Linked DNA regions of Homo sapiens: region 1 is linked to region 2. Evidence: promoter capture Hi-C in human tissues and cell types (Jung and others, 2019). All regions are on one chromosome and are shown on one strand. The core of a region is centred on a gene start or on the middle of the fragment in contact, and the rest is flanking DNA. Distances in the headings are between cores, read along the strand shown. Region 1 overlaps PACSIN2 (protein kinase C and casein kinase substrate in neurons 2). Region 2 holds the start of CENPM (centromere protein M).

Evidence for each region. Contacts are between HindIII fragments. The study calls those that stand out against the background at their distance.
Region 1: a contact is called between a fragment that was not itself captured here and the fragment with the promoter of CENPM in region 2, in 1 of the 25 tissues and cell types used here (lymphoblastoid cells).

Annotation. Positions count from the first base shown.
Region 1 is chr22:42,973,983-42,977,145 of GRCh38, reverse strand. All of the region lies in intron 1 of PACSIN2 (protein kinase C and casein kinase substrate in neurons 2), which reads left to right. Among named protein-coding and RNA genes, the nearest start is that of PACSIN2, 40 kb to the left of the region's middle. The HindIII fragment of the contact is 8,338 bases long and covers 1-3,163 here.
Region 2 is chr22:41,945,751-41,949,177 of GRCh38, reverse strand. CENPM (centromere protein M) reads left to right here and starts at 2,026. Exons shown (of 6, transcript NM_024053.5): 1 at 2,026-2,158; 2 at 2,682-2,761; 3 at 3,173-3,265. The coding sequence starts at 2,102. It also overlaps a transcript of SMIM45 not described here. RefSeq lists an enhancer at 2,013-2,222. The HindIII fragment of the contact is 14,723 bases long and covers 1-3,427 here.

The DNA of each region.
Region 1 (3,163 bases), core at 411-2,910, 1.0 Mb before region 2:
CATGGTCTAAATGAAATTACAGATCAGTCTCATATGAATGTAATATGTGTCTATTAATGCATATATATGTTTATATATTTGCAACATTTTAAAGTAGGTTTCTAAATCAAATAATAATTTGAATACAGTAGTGTATTAAAAGATTAATTTTTCATGACCAAACAAGGTTTACTCTAGCAATGCAAGGATAGCATAACATGAGGTATTGTGTCGGCTGGAGAAACTTCTAGCTCAGGGATTAGAGCATGGTTTGCCCCAGTCCTGCCATTTACTAATTCTCTGACGTTAGCCAAATTAGTTAATCTCCCTGAGCTTCAGTCTCCTCATCTATAAAATTGGCAGGACAATTACAATACTGCTGTATAGGGTTGATGGAAGGACGAAATGGGGTATCTGTGAAATGATTAGACCTGGGTTTGGTGCATAATAAGTGCTCAGTTAATGTTATACATCACAATTCACTGTATCACATTAAAAAGAAAACCCATGTGGTTATGTTAGCATATTTAAAAGGCATGTAATACAATTCTGCCGCTAATCTTAATGAAAATCTAAAACAGTCATAGAATCTACATAAATACAGAAATAGGTGCCAACACCCAGCAGCAAGCCTGTTAAGTGGCCATTCTGTGACACTCCAGGCATGACAGGGAGGCCTGCATTTAGCACTGTTGCCTCAAATCGATGATCCTGTGGACTTGTCAGGCTTTTGGGGAGAGGAGCCAGTCTGTCGCCTGGGCTGGCCAGTGTTGCCTCTGCTCTGTCTGGAGCAAGTGTGCATTAAGGCCTGCGCTTGCCAGTGGCCTTTCACCAGGGTGTAGCTTCTGGCCTTGCTCTATAGGAACCAGGAATTCCTGGGGTTGGGCTGGGAAGAGGATCGTTAAAGTGATAAGCCTGGAGGCATTTTGAGAACTACCTGTGACATTTAGAGTGAGGAGGGTCAGCAGTGGGTGGGTTAGCCTGGCAGGTGCCAAGGTTCTGTACTCCCTCTAGGTGAAGAATTAGCACAGGCATAGTTTCTAGCCCCCTTTTCCTCTCCTACATGCAAAATAAGATGATGAATGTTCTCCAAATGACAGAGGAGGGGAAGGCCTCAATGCTGTGAACTCTGTAGGGTTTCAGCTCAGATTGGACCTTCCAGACTGGCCTGGAAAGCCATGGGGGCCAGGGTGTCTCAGCATTGGCCCGCTTTTGGCCTGGTATTTGTTGAACATCTATCAGTGGGTCTTTTTCTTGTGTCTGTCTTACAGCATTTCTCTCATCTACCCCTAGTTTAGAAATGTTTTCTTAGATAACTTAAAATTCATGTAAAATAAGAGGTGATGGATATATAAGTTTTGGAACATACTAATAAATGCCTGGGAGCCAACCTCCTAGCTGGAGAACTAAACCACTGTGCACCACAGGGAAACTCCTAGTGGGTGCTCCCTGCCAGGGGGTAAAGGCATTCTAGAATAGTTCATCATTCCTGCACCTTTTTTTTTTTTTTAAAGAATATTGACAAGGCTCTGGTTAGAAAAAGGGAAAAAAAAAAGAATACTTATACACATGTATCTGTAAATAATATATTCTATTTTTGTTTATGAATTTTATAAAAAGAGACTCATAAGTAATCTGCAAATTTCATTTTTCATTCATTTTTACAGCTGGATAATTTTTCATTGTGTGCATGCTATATATATATATATTTGTATATATTTTTTATTTTTGTAGAGACAGGGTCTTGCCCGAACTCCTGAGCTCGAGCAATTCTCCTGCCTCAGCCTCCCAAAGTGCTGGGATTATAGGCATGAGCCACCATGCCCAGCCCCCTTTCTACCTTTTAATAGATATATTTTAGTTTTATTTGTCTTATGAGTAAACCACAAGAATGGGGACTTTCTCTAATGGATTTCTGTATCCTGTGAAAGTACTAAAACTTGTGGTGAATATGGTGGGAGCGTCCTCCATGCTAATAACTGAGTATTGGCATTGGATTTAAGGGAGTCAGTAGGTTAAACTGATACAGATTGGACCTTAGAGAGGGTGATGTGAGTGTCAGAACAAGACCAAAATGCCACCCTTGTTACAATGTAGTAGAAGTGGTGGACTAGAGCTCATCTGCAGTGCAGGCAGGTGGGCTTGCTGACTCTCCCTGACCCACATTCTAGGCCCTGGCACAGTCTACTCAAAGGTCAGCTGGGTCTGCAGAGGAGATATCCTTGCTCCAGCTGGCTGCCTTGCATCAATCTGGGGTGGAGAGGAAAGGAAAAGAGGACTAATTCCCAAAGCTTATGTTGTTGTTGTTGTTCCTTCTCCTCGTCCTCCTCCTCCTCTTCTTCTTCTTCTTTCTCTTTTCTTCCTCTCCTCCTCCTCCTCCTCCTTCTTCTCTTTTCTTTTCTTTTTTTTTTTTTTTTTGAGACAAGATCTCACTGTGTTGCCCAGGCTGGAGTGCAGTGGCACAATCTCAACTCACTGCAACCTCCACCTCCCAGGTTTAAGCAGTTACGGTGCCTCAGCCACCCGAGTAGCTGGGATTACAGGCACACACCACCATGCCCAGCTAATTTTTGTATTTTTAATAGAGGCAGGGTTTCACCATGTTGGCCATGGCTGGTGCTTATGATCTTTTAATGGATGGCCTCTACCCAGACAAGAAGCCTGTATGTGGTACTTCTGCCCCTACTCACCAGGAAGAGCACTCTCCTCTACTGTTCTCCAGTGGGGAGGAGTTAGGCGTGGCTTAGACCAGGAGCATTGAGGGAATGGAAATCATTGGCAAAGGGGAGCTGGCATCCTTCCCTACTGTTTAGAAGTAGATCATATCTAATTAACAGGTGAATGCTCTGGGTATGGCACCTGCTATTTGGTGCTCATGGGAAAGGGCCTTGGGTAGACGGTTCAGGCGCCAGGCCCTTGGTGGAACTGGCTTTTGTTTTTCATTGTACCTAGTCATGGTACACTGGATGGCGGATAACCGGAAGCAGAGTCGACATAGGGATACGGAGGGAAGGAGACTTACATAGATTTCAGGACAACAGTGAGCTGCCAGGCACCAGGCCAGGTGCTTTATCTCATGTAATCCACTTGGTAACATGTGAGGTGGGAGATGCTGGTCCTTTTTATACAGGTGAGGAAACAGAGGCTCTGAGGTAAATTGAATTGCGATTCCACAGCTCGTGGG
Region 2 (3,427 bases), core at 777-3,276:
CGCCTCCCAGGTTCAAGTGATTCTCCTGCCTCAGCCTCCCGAGTAGGTGGTATTACAGGCGCCCGCCACCGCCACCATACCTGGCTAATTTGTTTGTTTGTTTTTTGTTTTTGTGATGGAGTTTCGCTCTTGTTGCCCAGGCCAGAGTACACTGGCATAATCTCAGCTCACTGCAACCTCTGCCTCCCAAGTTCAAGCGATTCTCCTACCACAGCCTCCCAAGTAGCTGGGATTACAGGCATGCACCACCACGCCCAGCTAATTTTGTATTTTTAGTAGTACAGACAGGGTTTCTCCATGCTGGTCAGGCTGGTCTCAAACTCCTGATGTCAGGTGATCCGCCCGCCTCGGCCTCCCAAAATGCTGGGATTACATGCGTGAACCACCATGCCCACCCTGCTCAGCTAATTTAAAAATTTTTTTGTAGAGATGAGGTCTCACTATATTGCCTAGGCTGGCCTCAAACTCCCGGCCTCAAGTGATTCACCCGCCTCGGTCTCCCAAAGTGCTGGGTTATAGGCATGAGCCACGGCGTTCAGCTTACTTTATTTTCTTGTCATAGTGCCTACTACTGCTTGACTTTCAGGAAGTCCTCTCCACACCCCATGCCATGAGGAATGAAAGCCGTATCTGTGCTGAGGGCAGTGGCTCTATGGGGCCATTTACGTCCTGATCTTTCTGAGCAAGACACAGTTAGTTTAGTCTGCAGTAAGAAGGATTTAGGCTAGACAGTGTCTCTGCTCTCCCAGTTATTACAACAATGAACACACTGTTATCATTGTCTATCCCACCCCCATCAAACTAAGTTAATCAATAATGTCTGATTCAACTGACTTCCTAGGGTAGGGCATTGGGTCTGGGCATAGGAAATGATGAATGAATGACTGCTGAGAATGAATGGATGAATGTAATCCATCCATTCACTCAACAAATATTTATTAACTACGATGTACCAGGGACTTTTAGAGTGCTGGACATACAAAGTGACAAAGTCTCTAACCTCTTGTTTCTTACATTTTAGATGTAGAGACAGTGAACAAGTTATTATATAACTGTTGGCAGAACCAGTTTGCTATGGGCCCTGAGCGTCCCTGCATGTTCTTGCTGGGTATGTCAAGAAAGCAAGACCCTGACAGCTCTGTACTCAGGCTGTGTTTGCAGCAAGGAACCTTGAAAGATGAGGTAAAGTCTCCCATTGGACAAAGAACAGCATGCTTACCACTCACTGTAAAAGCAGTCAATTGGCAGGGCCTGCTGGTGTGCAGCGGTAGTCCCAGCTACTCAGGAGGCTGAAGCAGGAGGGCTGCTTGAGGCCAGGAGTTTACGACCCACCTGGGCAACATGGCCAGATCCCCATGGTGGCACTTGCCTGTAGTTCCAGCTACTCAGGAGGCTAAGCCAGGAAGATGACTTGAGCCCAGGAGTTTGAAGCTGTAGTGAGCTATGATCGTGTCACTATAGTCCAGCCTGGGCAACAAAGTGACGCTCCAAAAAAAAAAAAAAAAAAAGGGCCAGGCACGGTGGCTCACGTCTGTAATCTCAGCACTCACTTTGGGAGGCCGAGGCGGGATCACTTGAGGCCAGGAGTTTGAGACCGGCCTGGGCAACTTGGAGAAACCCCGTCTCTACTAAAAATAAAAAAATAAGTCGGGCGTGGTGACGCGCGCCCGTAGTCCCAGCTCCTTGGGAGGCTGAGGCAGGAGAATCGCTTAAACTCGGGAGGCAGAAGTTGCAGTGAGCCGAGATTGCGCGCATTGCACTCCAGCCTGGGCCACAAAGCGAGACTCTGTCTCAAAAAAAAAAAAAAAAAGTACTGTGTATGAGCATGAATGAATGAAAGTGAACAAAGGAATCACTAAAAACCTGCTTACTGTGGAGCGTGGAACCAAAGGCCTGTCCACCACGTGTTCCACGGGTAGCGCTGGAACGCCCCTCAGAAAAGGAGATAAAGGTTCGGTTCCTTTAAGAGGCCCCGTCCCGTCCCGCGAAGCCCCGCCTATAAGGAGGCACGTGCCCCCAGGCCGCGCTCTAGGGGCTGGACTCAGGGCGGTTTGAAAGATCGGCGCGCACCGCAGGAGCAACGGTTGGTCCTGCGGCTGTGATGTCGGTGTTGAGGCCCCTGGACAAGCTGCCCGGCCTGAACACGGCCACCATCTTGGTAGGTGCAGGCGGCCCTGCTTCCCCCGCCGGTTTTTCCTCCTGGGCGGTGCTTCAGCCACTAGGTCAACTGAGCTCTCTGAGGCGCCAAGCCAGCGCGCGCTACCGTGGCGGGGGCGGGGAATAGGCGGAGAGCCATGCTCTGAACCAATTGGAGTAGCCGCTCTCTGAGGTTGAGGGACGCACCCACCAATAGGTGCTCGGCGGACCCTTTCCCAGCTTCTGATTGGCGAGTTCCCGCGCCTGGAATTGGTTTTCCCGCGTCTGGGGGTCTGGCCTCCTGGAGAGGCCGGCGGTGGGAGCGAGGGTCGGGTAGTAGAGAGTGCGGTGCCCACAGGCCTGCAGCGGGTCCAAACCTCAGGCCCCCAGCCCGTGCCGCTTCGCGGGGTCCACTTCTCGGGAAATGTCCTCCGAGCCGCCTGCTGGCGGTGTCCCGATCCCCCCGGGAGTGGGTCGAAGGGCCAGGCCCTCCCCAGGGGGTGCTGTGCCTAGGGCTCGACTGTCCGCTCTCTCTCCCTGCGCAGCTGGTGGGCACGGAGGATGCTCTTCTGCAGCAGCTGGCGGACTCGATGCTCAAAGAGGACTGCGCCTCCGAGCTGAAGGTGTAAGTAGCCGCGGCTGTGGCCTGGGCCCACGTGTCTCTCACTCCAGAGGGATTCGGTCCTAGCTGCTAAACTCCGAAGCCCAGCGCCCCCTCCTCTGAGGCTGGTCCTTCTCCCAGCATGCAGCGTAGCTGGCTAGTCCCATGCCGTCTTATATCCCAACCTCCCCTTGCCGAGGTGGTGACTAAACAGAGCCCGTTTCTGGCAGAGGGAATCAGACAGGAGTAATCTGAATAGGACCGGACCTGTCCTGCCTCTGTGCTGGCCCAAGGAGTCGTGGCCACAAGAGCCTCGGGTGGCTAGGATGAGGTGGGGAGCCCTTGACGGCCTCTTTCCACATGAAGGGCAGCATTTAAACGGTCGCTATGAGGGGGGTACGGATATCTTGAGTCCTGCAATTTCCTGTTTTTCAGCCACTTGGCAAAGTCCCTCCCTTTGCCCTCCAGTGTGAATCGGCCCCGAATTGACCTGATCGTGTTTGTGGTTAATCTTCACAGCAAATACAGGTGAGAGCCAGAGGAAGGGGCAGTCAGGGCTCAGGCAGGCCTGGCTCAGGACTGTGCTGAGACGGTGACCTAACTTGTGATGGGAAGTGGTGAGGATGGGAGAGGCTGGCTGAGGTCAATCTGTAAGGTGAGGAGAGAGGAGCCAGTGGTCAGTGCACAATG